Linked DNA regions of Homo sapiens: region 1 is linked to region 2. The links are contacts of gene promoters, found by promoter capture Hi-C in human tissues and cell types (Jung and others, 2019). All regions are on one chromosome and are shown on one strand. Each heading gives the region's core, a stretch centred on a gene start or on the middle of the fragment in contact. The rest is flanking DNA. Distances are from core to core; before and after follow the strand shown. Region 1 overlaps MERTK (MER proto-oncogene, tyrosine kinase). Region 2 holds the start of ZC3H8 (zinc finger CCCH-type containing 8).

Region 1 (6,766 bases), core at 646-3,145, 340 kb after region 2:
AGTCCACATACAAGCCCCAGCTACTGAGCCCTGGGTTGCAGGTGGTTCTGAGGGTTGAACTGAGGGAAGGCTCCAGTGTGTGACAGCCAAGGGTGAGGATGGGGCACTGAATGATAAGCATGAGTGGCGAAAGAGCCAGTTGCATCACTCACTTCACAATCTAGTTGCAACCTGCCCTGAGGAGTATTCTCAGATCTGTTTAGAGTACTCTTGGGAAGAAATATCTTAGTCCAGATCTCCCATGGCAATAACCTGCCTATAAGATGTGCAGGACTGGCAACATATAATGGGGCTGAAATTGCATATAACCTACAACTCAGTGTTTCCACTCCTAGACTCACACATGTCCATAGGGAGACATGTAAGAAGGTTAAGGGCTCTTAACTTGGATAGGGGTTTTGATACCTATATTTATTAAAACTCATCAGACTCCACACTTAAAATCTGCACATTTAATTATGGCAAAGGAAACCTCACAATAGAAAAGAATAATGTTCATGGCAACGTTGTTTGTAATAGAAAAATTCAGGAAAACCTAAATGCCCATTAAGAGGCAACTGGGGCCGGGTGTGGTGGCTCATGCCCGTAATTCCAGCACTTTGGGAGACCGAGGTGGGCAAATCATGAGGTCAGGAATTCAAGACCGGCCTGGCCAGCATGGTGAAACCCCATCTCTACTAAAAATACAAAAAAAAAAATTAGCTGGGCATGGTGGTGGGCACCTGTAATCCTAGCTACTTGGTAGGCTGAGGCAGGAGAATCACTTGAACCTGGAAGGTGGAGGTTGCAGTGAGCCGAGATCGCACCACTGCACTCCAGCCGGGGTGACAGCGTGAGACTCCGTCATAAATAAATAAATAAATAAATAAAGCGATTGGAAGCCAGGCACAGTGGCTCATGTCTGTAATCCCCACACTTTGGCAGGCCGAGGCAGGAGGATCACTTGACCCCAGGAGTTAGAGACCAGCCTCGACAATGTGGCAAAACCTCATCTCTACAAAAAAGTTAAGAAACAGCTGGCTGTGTTGGCATGCACCTGTAGTCCTAGCTACTCAACAGGCTGAGGTGGGAGGATCACTTGAGCCCAGGAGTTTAGGCTCCAGTGAGCTATGATGGCACCACTGCATTTCAGCCTGGGCAACAGCCAACTCAAAAAAAAAAAAAAAAAAAAAAAAAAAGGCTGGGCGCTATGGCTCATGCCTGTAATCCCAGCACTTGGGAGGCTGAGACGGGCAGATCACACTGGAGGTCAGGAGTTCAAGACCAGCCTGGCCAACATGGTGAAACCCCATCTTTACTAAAAATACAAAAATTAGCTGGGCATGGTGGTGTGCACCTGTAATCCCAACTACTCGGGAGACTGAGGCAGGAGAATCACTTGAACCCAGGAGGCGGAGGTTGCAGTGAGCTGAGATAGCGCCATTGCACTCCAGCCTGGGCAACAGAGTGAGACTCTGTCTCAAAAAAAAGAAAGAAAACAAAAAAACAAAAGGAGGAGATTGGATAAATAAAACTATGGTATATTTACATATTTGTCTATGAAGATAAATGAACAAAGGTTACACTTTTCAACTCAGATGAATTTAGCAAACTTCACAAACAGTGAAAAAGCAAGCTGAAGAAGAAAGCATACTATTTATATGAAATTTTATAACATGTATGTGGTAAGCTGCTGCTAGCGTCCTGCTCAGCACCCATTTCCCCTTGTTTCCACAAAGGGGACCCAATCTCATTCAGGGTGGCAACTTGCCCAGCTAGCACACTTGACTTGCCACTCTTCCTGGCAGCTTGGAATAATCAGGGAAAGGTTAGCTGAAGTCCATAGCATAGGGCTTCGTATTGAGTTATCACCTTCTTTTTTAAAAGCTGCTTTAATTAACATAATTGTACATATCTATGGAGCACATTACACATTACTGTTAACTATAGTAATCCTACAGTGCTATGGAACACTAAACTTATCCCTCCTATCTTGCTGTAATTTTGAATTCTTTAACAAATCTCTTCCTATCCTCCCCTTCCTCCTATCCTTTCCAGGCCCTAGTAACCTTTGTCCTACTTTTTACTTCTACAAAATCAACTTTTTTGTTTAGCTTCCACCTATGAGTGAGGACATGTGGTGTTTAACTTTGTTTCTGGCTTGTTTTAATTAACCAAATGTCTTCCAGTTCCATCCATGTTGCTACCAATGACAGGATTTCATTACTTTATGGCTAAATATTTAATAGTATTCCATTTGTATATATATATATATATACACACACACACACACACACTTTTTTTTTAAGTTACAGGGTCAGCCGGGTGAGGTGGCTCATGCCTGTAATCCCAGAACTTTGGGAGACTGAGGCGGGTGGATCACCTGAGGTCAGGAGTTCGAGATCAGCCTGGCCAACATGGTGAAACCCCATCTCAAATAAAAATACAAAAATTAGCCAGGCGTGGTGGCAGGCGCCTGTAATCCCAGCTACTCGGGGTGCCGAGGGAGAAGAATCACTTGAACCCAGGAGGCAGAAGTTGCAGTGAGCTGAGATCATGCCACTGCATTCCAGCCTGGGGGACAAGAGCGAGACTTTGTCTCAAAAAAAAAAAAACAAAAAACAGAGACAGGGTCTCACTCTGTTGCCCAGGCTGGAGTGCAGTAAGGCAATCATAGCTCAGTACAGTCTCAAACTCCTGGGCTCAAGGAGTCCTCCCACCTCAGCCTGCTGAGCAGCTATGACCATAGGCATGCACCACAATGTCTAGCTAATTTTTTTATTTCTAGTAGAGACCAGGTCTTGCCATGTTGCCAAAGCTTATACCACATTTTCTTTATCCATTCATCCGTTGATGGACACCTAGACTGATTCCTTAGCTTGGCTATTGTGAATAGTGCTATATTAAACATGAGGGTGCAGATGTCTTTTTGATATACTGATATCCTTTCTTTTGGATAAATGACCAGTAGTGCAATTACAGGATCATATGGTAGTTCCATCTGTAGTTTTTTGAGGAACCTCCATACCATTCTTCATAGTGTTCCCGGACCGAACTGAGGGTTGGGCTGCTTATTCTCATGCCCAATAATGAGATGCAGATGAACTGGGAAAGAAGGGAGTTTATTTCTCCCTGGGTACAGGGAGAAGGCCTGGAAAACATCACCACATCAACTCAAAATTACGTTTTCCAGGGATTATATACCTTCTAAGCTATATGTCTACATGGAAGTGTGCATTCATTTAAAGACATAAGTGATTAACTTCTTCTAATCTATAACTAAGGTCTGAGTCCTGAGGACCTTCTTCTGGAGCCTCAGTAAATGTACTTAATCTAAGTGAATCCAGGTGCTGGGGTGATTATCCTTATTATCTTGTCTCCCGCTAAATCATGGAGGTTTGAGGAGTTCCTTCAGACCCCCAATAAACTTGTTTGTGGAGGTCTGGGGAATTTCTTAAGATCCCCAGTAAAACTTGTTTAATCCTAAATGAGGCCTGTTAAGAATTCCTTTGTTATCTTGTCATGAGTCAAGGCCCAGGAAAGGCCTGGGCAAAACTTCTGGTGGGCTTTCATTACATTCCAGCCTTTGTATGAGGGCACCGGCTCTATTAGCTTTTAATATTTAACTTAACCACTCAGTGCTGAAACAGTTGTTACAGAGGCCTGCGTTACCGAGACCTGGCCTGCCACAATAGTGGCTGTGATAGTTTAAATCCCCACCAGCAGTGTATGAGTTCCCTTTTCTCTGCACCTTTGCCAGCATTTGTTATTTTTTGCCTTTTTGACATAGCCATCCTAAATGCAATGAAATGAAACCAGGTTGTAATTTTGGTTTACATCTCCCTGATGATTAGTGATGTTAAGCATTTTTTCATATATTTATCTGTTAGCCATTTGTATTTCTTCTTTTGAGAAATATGTTTAGATCACTTGTTCATTTTTTAATCGGATTGCTTGTTTTTTGCTGTTGAGATGTTCCAGTCACCTTCTTGATAAAAAGGACAGACTCAGCTGGTATGAGACTTTTTGTCCTTTTCCCTTCTGCTTTTTTCTGCCTGGAATGCAAATGAAATGCCCAGAAGCACAGCAGCCATTTAAGGAACAATGTGTTCTAAAAGCATACACTATAGATGTCAGAGCCAAGAGCCAGGTCATTGACTTTATCATGGAGCCACTGTCTAATCCCAACCTGGTTGCTGTCAGACTGCTTGTTGTATGAGAAAAATACTCCCATTTTGGTTACACCACTGAAGTAAGGTTTTCTGTTATATGCAATCAAATGTAACTGACATGGTGCAAAACAACACTATAGAGTGTTACCAACATAATCATGTCAATCATGATCAAAGGATAAAGACATGCATGGGAATTGAAACACCCAATGTGGGATAATGGTTTTCTCTGGGTGGGAGTGAGGGGATGACACTGGAGAGAGGAACGACCGGGGACTTCCACTGTAGTGTTAATGTCTGACTTCTTACGTCAAGTAGTGAGTACACAGGCGAGTTTTATTACCTGTTAAATCCTTTTGTGTATCCTAAATATTTTATAATAAGATGTGAGTATAAAGAGTAGCTGAGAGGAAAAAATATAATGGTAAAAAGGGAAAGGCCTTACTATTTACTGGTTGGCCCACCTGATTAGCTGTATCTCTTTCCACCAACAGGTCCTAAAATCCTAAGGGCACTTGGCTTAATGAATCATCCAGCTCAACATTCTCACTTTGTCTAGGAATTGCCACCTCCCTTGGATAAGCATAATTAGCTTACTCCTACCCTCAATGGCCAGGTTCTGATACATACCCCTCCTGGGATGGGGTAATAGAGAGAGGCTCCCCACCACTGCCCAAGAATCAGACATCAGATATACTGCATCAGTGGAGTGTAACGAAAGAGGTGGCACAGAATAGCTTGGACATACACAAGGCAGGGCCACAGCCCCAAAGATTGAGTCCACGGGTCCTGGGAACCTGAGCTTCTACCTTGCGAAAATGCTTCCTAGGTAGTTCTGAAGCATACCTCTTCTTGAGAACCCCTGTCATGAATCATTGTCTTTATCCTTATCTTCCCAGCCAGAATATTTAAGAGCGTTGCATTCTACAGTTTATATCACAAAATATTTTTTAAATTTCCAATTATAAAATGACATAATAATATTGAATGAATAAACTTTTGAAAATGACATCATTCTCCCTGATCCTGAAGATTCTGCTGTTCCCCCTCAGGGGGGATATGCCCCACTCCATCCACCCCGGAAAAAGCTTAGTCCATCCCTCTGTCTCTCAGAAGATTTAGCAGGAAGAGGTCATATGTGTTTGGGGAGATCCAATATTCTCAGAAATATACCTCCATGTTTCCAGACTATTCTATTGCCCCAGAGTTGGAGGGGGTACTTACTGGAGGAACAGACAGCCCAGGTGGCAGGGAATGGCAACTGTCAACAGCAAAGAACCCACTAGCATCACTCTTTTTTTTGATACGGAGTTTTACTGTTATTGCCCAGGCTGGAGTGCAGTGGCACAATCTCGGCTCACTGCAACCTCCGCCTCCTGGGTTCAAGTGATTCTTCTGCCTCAGCCTCCCAAGTTGCTGGGATTACAGGCATGCGCCACCACGCCTGGCTAATTTTTTGTATTTAGTAGAGACAGGGTTTTACCATGTTGGTCAGGCTGGTCTCAAACTCCTGACCTCAGGTGATCCACCCACCCTGACCTCCCAAAGTGCTGGGATTACAGGCGTGAGCCACCGCACCTGGCTGCATCACTCATTTTTAATGAAACTCTTCACACAGCCTCCATCTCCGTTTCTGGGCTGATGTCTAAGAAAGTTCACACCGAGAGTCACGCACAGGGCTGAGGGTCAAACTCAGGCTGAGGCTCTGTGTCCCAAACGGCATGGGAGAAAGTATCCCTTCCCACCTCTCCCCTTTAGATGGAATCAGTGTTCTGCCCCAAAGGGGCCTAGAATCATCCATCTGCTTTCCCATTTGACAAGTGAGGATGTGGAGTTTTAGAAGGAGGACACACTATACCCCAGCTGTCCCTGCAGGTTCCTCTCAAAGCTAGGATGAGAACTTACATCTTTCAACTCCCCAAGTGGTTATTTTTTAAACTAAGAGTGAATCTAAAAAGCTTCTTTTTTTTATTTGCTCCAAAACTTTCAAAGAACATTGCTTTCATCACCAAATCTTCAAATCATGTGCCAGAATTGTAAAAAGGCTTAAAGGCTGGTTTCACTTCCTGTGTGGAGGCAGCCTGCCGTTAATTGGAACAAGTGAAAAACTGGCCTCCAGGCACACACAACACTTGGGAAGTCCATGAATATTTATCACCGCACTGAGAATTCCCTAAGCGGCACAGTGACAGAAAACAACTTTCAGTTAAGTTTGAGTCTCTGTTCTAATATTCTCCACTAAGACAGCCTGTTCTTACTTGTGAAAGTGATCATTTTCAAAACCATAATGAAGCCAATCTACTATTGGTAGCTCTAACCACAAGGCCCTAAGGCTTAAAATAACAAAACAATTCCTTCTCCAAAATAAACAAGGCTTTTCTTTGTGTATCTAATGAGAGGCAAGACCACAGCTAAGGCAAGTTCTAAGATGTTTACTGTCCCTGAATGCTGAGGTATCTAGATCCTCAAAGAAAAAGCAGATTACACAAAAAAGGGGACCTGTCAGAAAGCATTTGCATAAGTGCCAACCTGAGATCTAAATCCGGAGGATGGACCCCTACTGGAGTGACCTAGGGCAGAGCACTAACCCTGTGATGATTGGATCTTGTTTTCAA
Region 2 (7,517 bases), core at 90-2,589:
TCCTTAATTCAATTTTTTCTCTGAATTTTTAGTAATGATTCATGTTCCATAGGTGATGGCCTACAATATAAACAACATGGGAAAGTAGAATTTCCCTGGGGAAGATGTCTGGCTTCAAATAGTTCCCTTCACTAATCGGTAAAGGGATCCTGATTCATGCCAAGAATCAAACACTCCCTTCACTTACAGAAGCAAGTCAGGTTCTCTATCACTGGCCCAACCTAGGGTTTGAGCCTTCCTTTCTACAGGTCCCTTAAATGGCATTACATTGAGCAAAACTGAGCAATTTCCTGTTCTGCAACAGCATGCTCTATTTTCCTGCCTTCATACAATTCTCTCTACTTGGAATGCCCACTTCCTCTTTTCCTATGGAAATATCTCAAGACCCAGCTCAAATACTCCCTTCTCAAGAAGCCTTCCCAACTGGATGCAATTTTTTCCCTCTTCTGAATTCTCTTAGTATTTGGTACTTTTTAACGGACTTTTCTGTCTTGAGGTTACTTGTGTATTCATTTTAATTCCCATTCAATTGTAGAGACCCTACAAGTTACATTACCTGACTACACATCTGTTTATTCATTTCAAAACTGTGAATGGTAATAGAACATCTTTTACAGGGCTGTTGTGAGGATTAAGTTAGCTAACATGTGAAACGCTATTTCTAAGGAATAGTAGTGGAGTGCTCAGATAAATGTTAGCTGTTACTACCATCCCTTAGAAATACTGTGATTTTGATGGAAGAGTTTTCACCAAGGTGAAAGCAGAATCCTAACAACTAATTTTAAAAATTCTGGGCTGGGGCCGGGCGCGGTGGCTCACGCCTGTAATCCCAGCACTTTGGAAGGCTGGGGCGGGCGGATCACGAGATCAAGAGATCGAGACCATCCTGGCCAACATGGTGAAATCCCGTCTCTACTAAAAATACAAAAATTAGCTGGGCGTGGTGGCAGACACCTGTAGTCCCAGCTACTCAGGAGGCTGAAGCAGGAGACTTGCTTGAACCCGGGAGGCGGAGGTTGCAGTGAGCCGAGATCACGCCACTGCAGTCCAGCCTGGACGACAGAGCTTGACTCTGTCTTTAAATAAACAAACAAACAAACAAATAAATAAATAAAATAAACAAAATTCTACTATCTGAGGTAAAGGACGAAAAAGCTTACAGAAGGGCAACCACGGCGGCGCCTGCGCAGAGCCGAGGCGAAGGAGGCAGGGAGAGACCCGGCCTGCCCAGAGTCGCGGAGGGCGGTGCAGCGCATGCGCGGGGCAGGTGAGGCTGCGCGGGGCGGAGCCTGTGGCCCTGGCGCGGCTCTGGGTCCGTCTCGTCGCGTCCGGGTTGTCACTCTCTCGGGTTGTTACTCTGTAGCTTCCCGGCTCGCGAAAGGGAGGACCTGTCTGGGTCATGGATTTTGAGAATCTTTTCTCAAAACCCCCCAACCCGGCCCTCGGCAAAACGGCCACGGACTCTGACGAAAGGTGATCCCATATCTTTTCATCTTTTGAATGCAGGGGCTCAGCGGGACTCCGCCTCTTAGTTTCTTCTGGATTGGAGGCAGTCCGGGGCCACGTCCGGGCCGCGTCGCGAGGGCCCGTGGGGAGCACGTGGGCCGGCCGGGCGCCACCGTCTGACCTATAGAGGTCGTGCGGGGTCCGGGTGGGAGCAGAAGCTGAACGCGGGGCTCAGGCTTAGGCCGTCAGGGCCGGGGCTGTCGAGAGCCTGGGCGGGGGAGCGGGGTGGAGGCGAGAAGGCTCCGGGATGCGCCCCTTTCTCTGCACAGCAGCGGGTGAGGAGCCCGCCTCTGTGGTCCCGTAGCGTCTGTCTTTACCGTTGTTGCCTGTTTCCACGAGACCGTAAACTCCCAGAGGACACTGATGTGACCTTTTTCACTGACACCTCCTAGGTTCTTTTCTGTAGAAAGGATGAAACCACAAGTTTATTGAAAGGTAAAGAATAGGCAATACTCTGCCATTAGTCCACTGATTTGCATGGAAAGACCCTAAAGACCACAATAAAGCAACAGACGTCATTTGGACTTAATATTTCCATTAGGTTGGAAAAGCAAGTGAGACTCTTGGTCAGATGGCCCTAATTTGTAGATTATATTTTTGGAGCAGTGTCTAGTGATTTGAAATGCTAAAAACCACCATCTTTGTTCTTAAACCTACGTCTTTTATTTCCCTCAACTGAGATATATTTCCAGTTGTGATTGATTTTACCATTCGATATTGGTCAGCTGTTCACTCTATCTCAAATTTTACCTTAACTGATCATCCAGAGCTTTACCTTGTGCTTTACATGAAATAAATCACTTAATCCTCAAAACAAACTTAAAGAGAAGATGATGCCGTCCTCGTTTTACAGATGGGAAAACTGAGGCACGGAGAGGCTAAATAACCTGCCGAGATTGCACAGTGTAAGTGGAAGAGCTATGTCCAGGATCCATGATTTTATCACCAAGCTTCTCATGCAAAATGACTAAAATTTTAAAATAAGCCCTATAAATATTGGAAAGAGACAGATACACTAATTACTTGCAGATGATATAATTTACTAAGAAAAATAACTGGTACTAATTGATATGTTATAAAATACATAAGAATTCATCACACAAAAAAAAGATAATAGCAACATTTAAAAATCCGAACAGCAGCTATCAGTTTCAAAGTGTGTTGGACACAAGCTCCATTCCCCAAAACTTGACTGCAATACATAAAAGACACTTGGAATTTTGCCAAAATGATGGGTGAAGGATGGTATGGAAGTATGGTGAGCTGTCCATATTATTTGCCCATTTTTCTCCTTTTTGGTCTTTTTCACATTCTAGGATCTCTTATCTGCGAATACTTTACTCCCAATTGTCATTTGTCTTTGCCTATGGCATTATTTTTCAATGTAAAAAGGAATGGGGATGTTGTGGTTTGGTTTTATGCAGTCAGATGAATCAGTCTTTTCTCATATGGTTTCTGGTTTTTTTTCCGAGTAATTTGTGATGGGAATACTTCTCATTCATTCAAAAAATCGTATTGAGCACCTGCTACGGCCTTGGGGATATAGTAGTAAATGAAGAAGAGATGAAAATTTCTGTACTAATGAATTTACATTATTAGGGGAAGGGGGAGACATACATAAATATATCATATTTTAGGTGGTACTAAATGCCCTGAGAAAATGAATGAAGGGTAAGGGGAAAATAAGCACTGGTGGGATGGTAGGGAGGGAGTAGTTTTGTGGGTTTTTTTTTTATTTTTTTGAGCAGAGTCTGGCTCTGTCGCCCAGGCTGGGGTGCAGTGGCGCGATCTCGGCTCACTGCAAGCTCTGCCTTCCGGGTTCACACCATTCTCCTGCCTCAGCCTCCCGAGTAGCTGGGACTACAGGCGCCTGCCACCACGCCCGACGTATTTTTAGTAGAGACGGGGTTTCACCATGTTAGACAGGATGGTCTCGATCTCCTGACCTTGTGATCTGCCCGCCTTGGCCTCCCAAAGTGCTGGGATTACAGGCGTGAGCCACCGCGCCCGGCTGGGAGGTGTAGATATTTTAAGAAGGTAGATAAGGAAAGCCTCACTGATAACATTGGTAAGTTTTAAAAATCTGTGTAGGGACCTGAAGGAGGTGAGGGGGTTTCATAGTCCAGAGGGGTGGAGAGGAGTCTGTATAAAGGTCCTCAGACGGAGTGAGCTTGGTGTGATTGGGTTAGGGGAGCAAAGTGGCCAGGACAGCTGGGGTGGAGTAAGAGGGACTTGGAAGTCTGCGAGGTACTGGGGTAGGGTTAGGGGAGCCCAATCATGGAGGAACTGGTAGGTGCCGAAATAAGGACTTTGGCTTTTACTCTGAATGAGACAAGAGACCATTGGAGGGTTTTTCAGCAGAGTGACATTTGAAATATTTTAGCAGGGTCATTCTAGTTGTGTTGAGAGTAGAATGTAGGGGTGCCAGAGCAGCTTGGATTGTTGTATTAGTGGCAAGAAGTGGTCAAACGTGGGTATGTTGAAGATAGAATAAACTGGATTTCCTCAGAGATTGGATGGGGATGTGAGAGAGGAATCAAGATTGACTTTAAGGTTTTGGTAGGGATCTTGAGAGGGATGGTGTTGCCGTTTTAGATAGCAAGAAGGATTAGGCTTCAGAGAGAAGAGCAAGAGTTCAGTGTTGGATGTTTTAAGATTACATATGTCTAGTAGATGTTCAGGTGGTTATGTTGACTAGGAAGTTAGCTCTGTTTGGATTTAAGAAGAGGGGTTTGGGTTAGAGACTTGGATATTGAAATCAACTACATACAGATGATATTCATAGTGATGATATAGAAAGGGATAGCCTGGAATGAGAATATAGATGAGAATATAGACAAAGAAGAGAAGAGGTGAGAACTGACTTTGAAAGTTGTGAAGATAAGGAACCAACAAAGGAGACTGAGAAGTAGTAGCTGTGGAAAGAAGAAACTAGAAGAGCCCACTATCTCTGAAGCTAAGTAAAGAACATGTTTTACAGAGAAGAGGTGGTCACCTCTGTCCTATCCTGCTCATAGGTCTAATATGGGTGCTGAGTATTGTAGACCTTCACAGTGAAAGTAGACATCTATTTAGAATGGGCAGTGTTGAATAACAGTGTGATTGTAGGGCACATACTTGGGAGCTTTGCCTGCCTGCTGGGGCTCAGATCTCAGCTCCACCATGTATTAGCTCTGTGACAAGTTACATATCCTTTCTGTGATTGTTTTCTCATCCGTAAAATGGGCTTTTAGTATGTATGTCATAACACTGTTGTTTGTGGTAAGTGTTACGTGTATGGAGCAGCATCTGGCACAGAGTAAGCATCATTCAAGTGTTGGCTGATGCTGTTACTGCTATTGAGGTCATTATTGTCATTATTCCTCTGCCTAAGGAGAGGTTGCCTCCTACTCCATGAGATGATTCATTACTGGAAACTATAGCTATAAAGATTCACAAGTATTGGGGTTTTTGGTTCTTGTAATGGTGGCTTCTGTAGCAGGCTCACAACTTAGTACCTCATCTGATGGATGTAACTCTGGAGCTCTGAGTCAGTGTAAACTGTTGAATTGGACAAAGCTGTGAAGCCTGAGCTCCTGTAACTTTGAAAGAACAGCCACGGAGCCACTGTTCACATTCTCCTTGTGCTGTCAGTGCTTTCCCTTTGTAACATGTTCTCTTGAGATGGGACACATTCCCCAATTCCTTGCCTTTATCTGGTGTGTAACTCATATTTTAATTCACAGCTTTTCCCAATCTTGTGTTCAATAGTCACCACTTACTAAGATAATATTTTCTTCAGCTCCCTATATTTCTAGTATCAACCATTATTCAGATACATCTATACATTTTATTGTCTTCTTTGTTCACCATGTTCTTATATTTCCCATCCCTCTTGGGTTCATATTTAGTTTTGCTGGAATAGCCTCAAGTAATTGTCTCAGACTGTTATATATATGCATGGTCAACTTCTCAGTCCTGTAAGTCTGAAAACAGTTTTTCTTTTTCATCTTTACACTTAAATGTGTTTGTCTCGCTCCTAATCTCAAAAGGCACTCTGCATTCTGCCTAAAATACCCTTCTCTCTCACATTCCTCTTTCCTCTTTTTTGGCTAACTCATAAGTATCATTTAGGCTCTGAATGCCTCTGATCCCCAAGTCTGGGTTGTGTTCCCCATATATGCCCCTATACTTACCATACCATATTGAAATAGCTTTATTTTTTTCTCCCAAGGAGATAGAAAGCTCTCAGAACACAGTGACAGGGTCTGTATTTTTCATTGTTGTAGTCCAGGGCCTAAGGCCCGGAGCCTCGTACATGGTGGGTACTTAGTAGTTGTTGAATTAATGGAATGATGGATGAATGAATGATTTATATAGCTGCTAATACTTGAACATTAAGGCTTTATAATCTAAAATTTTACAGGCTATTCATAAATATATATGGACATTTATTGGTCATCATAATTTTGTACATTTTCTGGAGTATTTGGTATAGAATTTGAATTTGTAATTTCTTTGAGGGTAAGTTGAAGACAAGCCAAAGCAGTGAATTGTAACGCTGTGGTATGAACACTTCAGGTTGAAAAAACTCTTTTGTGTTATTTGATATTTTTGCTACAGAATCGATGATGAAATAGATACAGAAGTTGAAGAAACACAAGAAGAGAAAATTAAACTGGAGTGCGAGCAAATTCCCAAAAAAGTAAGATTAAGTTGACCACTGTTTAAGTTGAAAACGCAGATTTTTTTTTCTCAGTTTCACATGGAACAACAAAAAAAGAAAAAACAGATGGAAATGGATATGAGAAATTAATGAAGGATCCTACTTGTCTCATTTTACCAGCATTTGGGACCCAGTTACTTATATCAAAGAAAACTGGTTATACTTTTTAAATAAATTATTATTTAATAACTTTATTGTCATTTAACATGACATATGTTTAATAATTGCATTTATTTCTATTTTTGTTATTTCTGAAATGGACTGTAAACAGTTTCAAAAGCTTCTTTCAAGTTGGGTTAACATTTTTGAGGGTTATGATTTGTTAACTTAACCAACCTTAGTGATTTATAGCTTAAAGCCCGTATTAGTTCATTAGGGCTGCCATAACAAAGTACCACAGACTGGGTGGCTTAAACAACAGAACTTGGCTGGGCGCGGTGGCTCACGCCTGTAGTCCCAGCACTTTGGGAGGCCGAGGTGGATGGATCATGAGGTCAGGAGTTTGAGACCAGCCTGGCCAATATGGTGAAACCCATCTCTACTAAAAATACAAAAAAATTTAGCCAGGCATGGTGGCATGCACCTGTAGTCCCAGCTACTAGGGAGGCTGAGGCAGAAGAATCACTTGAACCCAGGAGGTGGAGGTTGCAGTAAGCCAAAATCCCGCCACTGCACTCCAGCCTGGGCAACAAAGCGAGACTCCGAATCAAAACAAAAACAAAAACAAAAAAAACCCCAGAACTTTATTGTCTCAAGGTTCTGGAGGCTGGAGGTCCCAGCACAAGGTGTTGGCAGGGTTGGTTCCTTCTGAGGCTGTGGGGAAGAATCTATTCATTCATCTCCCCTAGCTCCTGATGGAATGCTGGCAATCTTTGGTGATGGCTTGCAAAAGTATCATCCTGATTTCTGCCTTCATATTCACATGGTGTTCTCCCTGTATGCCTGTGTCTGAATTGTCTGAATTTCCTTTTTTTGAGACAGAGTCTTGCTCTGTCACCCAGGTTGGAGTGCAGTGGCACAATCTCTGCTCACTGCAACCTCCTTCTGGACTCAAGCAATTCTCAGCCTCCCAAGTAGCTGGGATTACAGGTGTGCACCACCACGCCCAGCTAATTTTTGTGTTTTTTGTAGAGAAAAAATATACATGGGGTTTCGCCATGTTGCCCAGGCTGGTCTCGAACTCCTGGGGTCAAGCGATCTGACCGCCTCGGCCTCCCAAAGTGCTGGGATTACAGGCCTGAGCGACTGTGCCCGGCTGAATTTTCCTTTTTTATAAGGAAATCAGTCACTGGACTAGGGCCCACCC

The links. Contacts are between HindIII fragments. The study calls those that stand out against the background at their distance.
Region 1: a contact is called between a fragment that was not itself captured here and the fragment with the promoter of ZC3H8 in region 2, in 1 of the 25 tissues and cell types used here (hippocampus).

Annotation. Positions count from the first base shown.
Region 1 is chr2:111,906,102-111,912,867 of GRCh38, reverse strand. All of the region lies in intron 1 of MERTK (MER proto-oncogene, tyrosine kinase), which reads right to left. Among named protein-coding and RNA genes, the nearest start is that of MERTK, 11 kb to the right of the region's middle. The HindIII fragment of the contact is 7,559 bases long and covers 1-5,674 here.
Region 2 is chr2:112,248,864-112,256,380 of GRCh38, reverse strand. ZC3H8 (zinc finger CCCH-type containing 8) reads left to right here and starts at 1,339. Exons shown (of 9, transcript NM_032494.3): 1 at 1,339-1,473; 2 at 6,109-6,190. The coding sequence starts at 1,400. RefSeq lists a silencer at 1,157-1,366. The HindIII fragment of the contact is 5,500 bases long and covers 1-4,474 here.